2 separate regions of the Homo sapiens genome follow, and region 1 is linked to region 2. Evidence: promoter capture Hi-C in 16 types of primary human blood cells and fetal thymus (Javierre and others, 2016). All regions are on one chromosome and are shown on one strand. The core of a region is centred on a gene start or on the middle of the fragment in contact, and the rest is flanking DNA. Distances in the headings are between cores, read along the strand shown. Region 1 overlaps OTUD7B (OTU deubiquitinase 7B). Region 2 holds the start of SF3B4 (splicing factor 3b subunit 4).

Region 1 (4,038 bases), core at 334-2,833, 33 kb before region 2:
GTATTTAGCCAGGAAACCCAGAAATACCCACGTTCTATCCTTGGCCAGCCAGCCTTTCCCTCTCAAAGTCAGCCTTTCCATCTGAAAGTCCCCAACATGCATAGAGAATAGTGGCTAGTAATGGAGCAATAGTTTTAGTCCTTTTGCTCAGCACAGTGAAAGTTCATACTGAAAATGTGGCTTTCATAATTGTCTTAGCTTAGACCATTCATAGCATTATTACCCACCTTGGGAGTGGGAATGGTAGGAGGAGGATAATGAACTGGGGAAGCTTCCTTTAGCTCCCCAGTACCAAAACCACACTAAATAAGTTTTGATTTCCTGGGCTTCCTTGTTTTATGTTGAAATTGGTGGTGAGGCTCAGTAATAGTTTCTTAAATGTTAAGGCTAGAAGTTGTACACCACCTAGTGGCTGTGTACATTAAAACAGGAAGCAGAAACCGGCCAGGAAGAGGGAGCCGGATCTGGATGTGTCTATTGGAGTGACTGCAGCACTCCATATAGAACCTGGGCATTGCTCTCTTTATTTTTAATTGAAGTAAAATTTGTGATAGCATTTTACAAATTGAAAATAGCTGTGTCATTTAAAAAATTCCCATTAAATTTGTTCCCAGTACCCCTCATGTTTCCAGTGATTTCCTTCTACTCTGTCAGTGTGCGGTTAAGCCGTATAGACTCATTTTAATACTAATGTCAGCCAAATAAAATTAATAAGTTAAACTTATTTCCCTTATCATTATATACATCCTAAAGCCAATGTATTTTAAAATTGCTTGTACCATTGCCTGCTCTCCTTTGATAAAAATTGTAGTTTCACTTAGCATATGTTTATTGATTATAGTCACAAAATAGACCTTGGGTGTATTGCATAAAACATGATCCTAGCATAGAGGAGGAGATGGACATGTAAATACATAATTGCAACAGGTTATAACATGTATGACTCTTACAATAGACGTCTCTATAGCAGTTAATGCTGGCCGGATGCGGTGGCTCATGCCTGTAATCCCAGCACTTTGGAAGGCCAAGGCAGGCGGATCACCTGTTGGTAGTTCGAGACCAGCCTGGCCAACATGGTGAAACCCCGTCTTTACTAAAAATACAAAACTAGCCAGGCATGGTGGTGTGCACGTGTAGTCCCAGCTACTCCGGAGGCTGAGGCAGGAGAATTGCTTGAACCTGGGAGGTGGAGGTTGCAGTGAGCCAAGATCATGCCACCACACTCCATCCTGGGTGACAGAGCAAGACTTTGTCTCAAACAAACAAACAAAAAAACAACAACAACTCTATAGCAGTTAGGGAGAGAGGATACAAAGGAAGGAGTGGTTGATCTGCCAAGGGAGATTTAGAAGACTATTTGGAGGAATGATACCTGAGTTCTGTCCTAAAAGTTGAGAAATTGTTCACAAGGTTGACAGAAAGTGAGCTACTCCAGGCAGAAGGAACAGCTTAGACAAAAGCTCAGTGGTATAAAACAACATGGTATATTTCAGGAACTACAGCTGATTCAGTGAGATATATCTGACTAGAGAAGTGGGTAGGGGCCAGAAAGTAGGCTTTGTATGCAGCACTTCTACTTGGGAGGCTGAGGCAGGAGAATTGCTTGAACCCGGGAGGTGGAGGTTGCAGTGAGCTGAGATCGTTCCACTGTACTCCAGCCTGGGCGACAGAGTGAGACTCTGTCTCAAAAAAAAAAAAAAAAAAAAAGAAGGTATCCAGGTGTGGGGTGGGTGAAAGAAAGAAAGGAATATTAGATAATTCCTTGGTTTTGAGCTTGGATGTTTGGGTGATAGTTGGTGCTATTCACTAAGGTAGGAAAATAGGAAGAAGAGTGGGTTTGGGAAAAAACAGGAGTTCTATTTTGACTTTACAGAGTTTGAGGTAGCCATGGGCAGGTGGCAGTCTCCAGTAGGTAGCTGGATATATGAATATAGAAATTAAGAAGTCTAGGCTGAGTGCAGTGCCTCATGCCTGTAATCCCAGCATTTTGGGTGGCTGAGACAGGCAGATCACCAGGTCAGGAGTTCGAGACCAGCCTGGCCAACATGGGGAAAGCCCGTCTCTACTAAAAATACAAAAATTAGCTGGGCCTGGTGGTGGGTGCTGTAATCCCAGCTACTCGAGAGGCTGAGGCAGGAGAAGCATTTGAACCCGGGAGGTGAAGTTTGCAGTGAGCCGAGATTGTGCCATTGCACTCCAGCCTGGGTGACTCTGTCTACAAAAAAAAAAAAAAGAAAAAAAGGAAAGAAAAGAAAAAGAAAAGAAATTAAGAAATCTGGGCTGGAGATAGATGGTATATACCATACAGATGGTAGTGGATGAGATTATGGCAGTAGAAGAGATCACCCAGAGGGAACCAAGGTGAAAATCATTGACACACCACTAGTATTTTGGGGGCAGACAGAATTTAGAGGAATAGAAAGTAATTTTATGGACGCTAATGGCAAAGAAAATTTAAAGAGGAAAATAACCCATGTGAAGGCTAAGATGGGAACCAGGGTCCACTGAATGTGGCAATTAGAAGGTCATTGTTCTTTGCCAAAATCAGGTAGGTGAAATGTTATGTGGCAGGTGGGTGAGCAGGATGGAGGGCAGAAATGGGACAGATTGCAGTAGGTCAAAAAGAATGGATGATAAAGAAGTTTAATAGTCATAGACTATTAGTTCATGGATCTTGACTGTAAAAGAGATAAGAGATTTGACTTTGTAGTACAATTTGTAAACCAAGTGCTAAGGGATTAGGGAGTAAGTAACAGTGAATAAGGTGGAATAGGTATTGCCTCTTAGAACCCAGCCTCTAATTGCCCAATGTCCCCTGCCTGTCCTTCACACAGTCAGGGCTGGTATACACAGAAGATGAATGGCAGAAGGAGTGGAATGAACTGATCAAGCTTGCCTCAAGTGAACCCCGAATGCATCTAGGTACCAATGGAGCCAACTGTGGTGGGTAAGTATGGCTAAGTAGGGGAGGAGGAAACCTGCATAGAGTCCTCACTGGGCTTCCACAGCCCAGTGTCTAGAGAGCTCTGTGCTAAGAGGATATTAGAAGGAAAGAGGGGAACTATGCTAAGGGCACAAAAGTGTGTAACAACATGATATGTTTAGGAACTACAGGTAGTTCGGTATTGAACTGGAATATAAAGTAGCCCATCTAGACTTTGGAAACTTCAGGACAAATGACCCAGTATCTTCAGTAAGTAAACTGCAAGGAAAATAAAAAGGGACCAGGAACTTGTAGGTTTAAATGGACTAAAAAGACATATCAGGCCGGGTGTGGTGTCTCACACCTGTAATCTCAGCACTTTGAAAGGCTGAGGCAGGAGGATCGTGTGAGCCCAGGAGTTCGAAACCAGCCTGGGTAACATAGTGAGACCCCCTTTCTTTTTCTTTCTTTTTTTTCTTTTTTTTTTGAGACAGAGTCTTACTTTGTTGCCCAGGCTGGAGTGCAGTGGTGTGATCTCTGCTCACTGCAACCTCTGCCTTCAGGGTTCAAGTGATTCTCTGTTTCAGCCTCCCAAGTAGCTGGGACTACAGATGCATGCCACCACGCCCAGCTAATTTTTGTATTTTTATTAGAGACGGGGTTTCACCATTTTGGCCAGGGTGATCTCAAACTCCTGGCCTCAAGTGATCCACCCACCTTGGCCTCCCAAAGTGCTGGGATTACAAGCATGAGCCACCATGCCTGGCCAGTGAGACCACATCTTAAAAAAAAAAAATTAGCCAGGCATGGTGGTGCATGCCTATAGTCCCAGCTACTTGGGAGGCTGAGGTGGGAGGATTGCCTGAGCTGGGGAGGTCGAGGCTGCAGTGAGTTGTGACAGCACCCCTGCACTCCAGCCTGGGTGACAAAGAGAGACCTCTGTCTCTAAAAGAAAAAAAAGACATCAACCAGTTGGGATGTGTGGACATCATAAGACAATTAAGGAAATGTGAACAATGTCTCTGTGTTTGATTATTGTTAAAATTATAAAATGTGATATTAATGGTATAGTGGTTGTTTAAAAAGGTAGTCCTGGCCAGGCGCAGTGGCTCACG
Region 2 (4,015 bases), core at 1,516-4,015:
TTCTTGCTTCCTCTGTCCAGTTAAACTCCTATACACAAGTCTACACCCCAGGATACTCCCAGCCTCCAGCTGGGAACTCTTTTAACCTGCAGCTGTCTGTCTGGGACTGGGATTTACGTTATAGCAATGCACAGATACTACAATTCCAGAATCCTGGCTATGACCCAGAACACTGTCCAGATTCCTGGCTCCCTAGACCACAGGTGAAGTGTCTAAACTTCCTAAATTCCCTTGACGTTCCCACAGGCTCATGCTACTAGACAGTGAGAAGTGAAAGACAAAATGTCTTGAGTTCCTTAGGGAAAGCTACTCCACTACTCTTCTGCAGCTGTCACTTATAGTCCCTGGGTGTCCCTAGGAAGACAGAAGACCTAGAATAGCACAGAGGGCACCCTTTTTGTCCTTCCTCAAGTCTGTTTACTCATCTTCCTGTCTCGTGCACACATAAGGTGCCCTAAAATCAACCTTAATCAGTCCCGAGGCCTAGTTGAAGCCTAATGAGGAGGGTAGAAGAGTTCTCATGGGGAGGCTTGTAGTTCTAGTCACCAGTGCAGTGAGTGGGTGGCAGCAGGACACCCTGTCCTGATCCAGATTGGGGAAACTAGGGTTATCTGGTCTCTCTGTTGCCAGTTGATTTTCTTTTCCTTTTAGCCAAGCTTCATGGTTCCTGGACCCCCCAGTTCTGTGTGGCTCTTCTCTAGAGGAGCATTGACCCCCCTGAATCAGCTCTGTCCTTGGCGGGACAGTCCTTCCCTGCTGGCAGTCTCTTCTCGTTGGCTCCCTCGACCTGCTATCTCCTCTGAAAGCCTGGCTGACCAGGAATGGGGTCTCCCCTCACATTGGGGAGCTTGCCCTTTACCTCCAGGGCTGCTGCTGCCTGGGTATCTGGGACCCCAGATCAGGCTCTGGAGACGCTGCTACCTGAGGGGAAGGCCTGAGGTCCAGGTAAGAAGGGAAAATAGACTGGGAGTGGGACAAGGGACTTGACTCTGCTGAACCAGATGAACAGGAGCTGGAAAGGCAAGGAGCTGAAGCCTCTGGGAGTCTGGGAAGTGAAGTTCTACTCCTCTTGGCATCAAACAAGGTTTGGGAGTGTAGGAGGTGCGGGAAAGTGCTTGTGGCTTAGATTAAGTGGAATTTAGGGCATAGCTGAAAGGGGAAACAGAATTAAAGACACCAGAAGTAGCAGAGAAGCAGGGGGCCAGAGCTACAACAGTATTCTTCTCTGTTCCTCTTTGCCTCCTCCCCAGATGGGCCTCTCAGCTCCCACAATCTCTGGCCTCCAGGATGAGCTATCCCATCTTCAGGAGTTATTACGGAAATGGACACCAAGAATATCTCCTGAGGATCACTCCAAGAAAAGAGATCCACATACCATTCTCAATCCCACTGAAATTGCTGGCATTCTCAAAGGCAGGGCAGAGGGGGATCTGGGGTAGAGGAGGGTTCTGTCTAATCTTTTTTTTTTTTTTTTGTATCTGCACTTGCAGCCTCAGCTTTCACACTTCAGCCCTTAAGTTCACTAAGAAGGTCTGAGTTTCTGCTGCAGATAGTGGTGTTAACTGCTCCAACTCTTGTCTTGCTTAGTTTCTACAAATATTTTTGCTTCTTGTCATTTGAAGGATTAAGAAACAAAAACAATCCAGAAATTGATCGGTTTTTTTAGGCCAATCCCATCCCTTCTGGATAACCAGATGTTAAATCATGAGATCAGAGATGCTGTTCATCAGTCCCAACAAGATGGCCTAGAAATCGCATTCTCACCTCGCCTTGCTGCTGCTTTAATTCCAAGTTCTATTTCTTCCCTTATAGTTTTCTATGGGAATGAGGCGGATACAGGAAACACCCTATCTCCTCTGTATTTTTGTAGTGGAATTTCTATTTAAGGGGCTCATTAAAGCATAGTATTTATACACATTGCTGGCATTGTTTCTTGTGTTTGAATAAAGGATTCTCCTAGGTAGGAAAGTGGTGGGTAAAAGGGGTGTATGACCCAAGAGAGGAAGGCATCCACCATATTATTGCTAAGGAAATAGGGGAACTGGGTTTGGTGAGGCTCTGCAAAATTCAAGTGCAATTTGGGGAAAGGGTTCTCTTGTGTGTGTCTCCCATTTAGAGGCAGATGGGGCCAGAGTGTTCTAGAGATCCAGACTCTAGAGCTCCGATCCCATCCACCCCTCAGCTGTGGTCACACACCAACGCGGAGCAGCCCTCACCCTCCCCATGCAATTAGGACGAGGTGAGCGCAGACGTCACTCTAAGCTCAGACATTTCGCAGTCTCCTCCCCTGAGGGAAAACCAAATACCTCCAGCCCAAATCAGGGTTGTGAGGCCAAATCTGCAAGAAGGCTGCAGGCGAGAGGGAAGGCTCCCTCTGCGCCTGAAAGCCCCCAAGTCCTCGGGTTGGGGGGAACTCTTCAGCACATCCTTCTCTGGACAACAGAAGAAGAATCACTGTCCACAAAATATATTAAAACTGAAATTTTTGTTCTTTTAGCTTTCGAATTTACACTTTTGAGAGCAGTGTGATTCTTTCAAGTCTAGCAGTGCATTAAGAGGGCCTGAGCGTTTCCGTTCCGCCCTCCTCGCTAAGACAACTAGCAGCGGCACCTCAGGACGCGAGCCGAGGACTCTACCGCCCGACCCAGGTTAAGTTTCGGAGGCTCCTAAGATGGCTGCAGCCGCTTCCAGGCACCTCCTCTTCCGCGGCCCCGCCCACCGCTACGTCCGTCTTCGCCCCGGAAGTGGAAGTCGTGCTGAGGTCAGAAGGCGGAACCGCTGCTGGGAGACGGCGGGATCTCTTTCGCCATGGCTGCCGGGCCGATCTCCGAGCGGAATCAGGGTAACTGGAGGGGGAAAGTCTGGAATGGGCTCAGCGTGGCTAGGAGGCCCCGACTACAGCCAGCAGTGTCTCTGCAGGGGTGGGAGACTGGACTCCTCCCTTCCCCAGAGGGCGCGAGACCGGCCCTCTGCCTGTTGGGGGCGGGGTGGCCGGGTGCTGGCTGAGGCCTCTGGGTGTGATACTTAAGTCCGGTCCCCTGCTGACTTCTCACTCAAAAAATCAAAAAAACCCACTCACAATACTAAATTAGACTTCAGAGGATTCCCGAAGTCCTGGGAAGAGAGAAGTTTAAGGGTTTAAACTTTTTTTTTTGCTCCTGTCCCCTACCGCGGTCCCCAGTTCCCCTGGTTGGGTTCCATCTTCATGTTTCCATCACTTCCTTCCTTCCCGTTACACTCTCACGCTTGCTCTTTTTGCTCCCTCCCTTCAAGATGCCACTGTGTACGTGGGGGGCCTGGATGAGAAGGTTAGTGAACCGCTGCTGTGGGAACTGTTTCTCCAGGCTGGACCAGTAGTCAACACCCACATGCCAAAGGATAGAGTCACTGGCCAGCACCAAGGTGAGTACATGACAAGGGGCGAATTGCTCCCGGAGGGTCCCAGCAGTATTCACAACTGTTTTGGAATAACATGAGCAACCTAAAGATTTTTTTCTTTTAAGCCTCTCTTCAGTTTATTTCTGGAACCATTCTTAAGTAAAGTGATGTTGTTTCTTTCTTGTTCTTTGTGATTAGAGGGTAGATGAATTTTACCCCATTTTCAGTCTCTTTACTTACGTTGTTAACCTCCTCTTCTCCACTTTTCCAGGCTATGGCTTTGTGGAATTCTTGAGTGAGGAAGATGCTGACTATGCCATTAAGATCATGAACATGATCAAACTCTATGGGAAGCCAATACGGGTGAACAAAGCATCAGCTCACAACAAAAACCTGGATGTAGGGGCCAACATTTTCATTGGGAACCTGGACCCTGAGATTGATGAGAAGTTGCTTTATGATACTTTCAGCGCCTTTGGGGTCATCTTACAAACCCCCAAAATTATGCGGGACCCTGACACAGGCAACTCCAAAGGTTATGCCTTTATTAATTTTGCTTCATTTGATGCTTCGGATGCAGCAATTGAAGCCATGAATGGGCAGTACCTCTGTAACCGTCCTATCACCGTATCTTATG

What was found. Contacts are between HindIII fragments. The CHiCAGO score rates a contact against its expected background, and 5 or more counts as called.
Region 1: a contact is called between a fragment that was not itself captured here and the fragment with the promoter of SF3B4 in region 2, in 1 of 17 cell types (M2 macrophages). The highest score is 5.6, in M2 macrophages.

The regions. Positions count from the first base shown.
Region 1 is chr1:149,958,593-149,962,630 of GRCh38, reverse strand. It overlaps OTUD7B (OTU deubiquitinase 7B), which reads left to right. Exons shown (of 12, transcript NM_020205.4): 7 at 2,835-2,947. Among named protein-coding and RNA genes, the nearest start is that of MTMR11, 24 kb to the right of the region's middle. The HindIII fragment of the contact is 2,620 bases long and covers 274-2,893 here.
Region 2 is chr1:149,926,553-149,930,567 of GRCh38, reverse strand. It overlaps SF3B4 (splicing factor 3b subunit 4), which reads left to right and starts at 2,765. Exons shown (of 6, transcript NM_005850.5): 1 at 2,765-2,842; 2 at 3,274-3,402; 3 at 3,650-4,015. The coding sequence starts at 2,809. MTMR11 (myotubularin related protein 11) reads left to right here. Exons shown (of 17, transcript NM_001145862.2): 15 at 21-203; 16 at 652-945; 17 at 1,251-1,917. The coding sequence ends at 1,439. RefSeq lists enhancers at 1,385-1,454, 2,589-2,968. The HindIII fragment of the contact is 3,542 bases long and covers 659-4,015 here.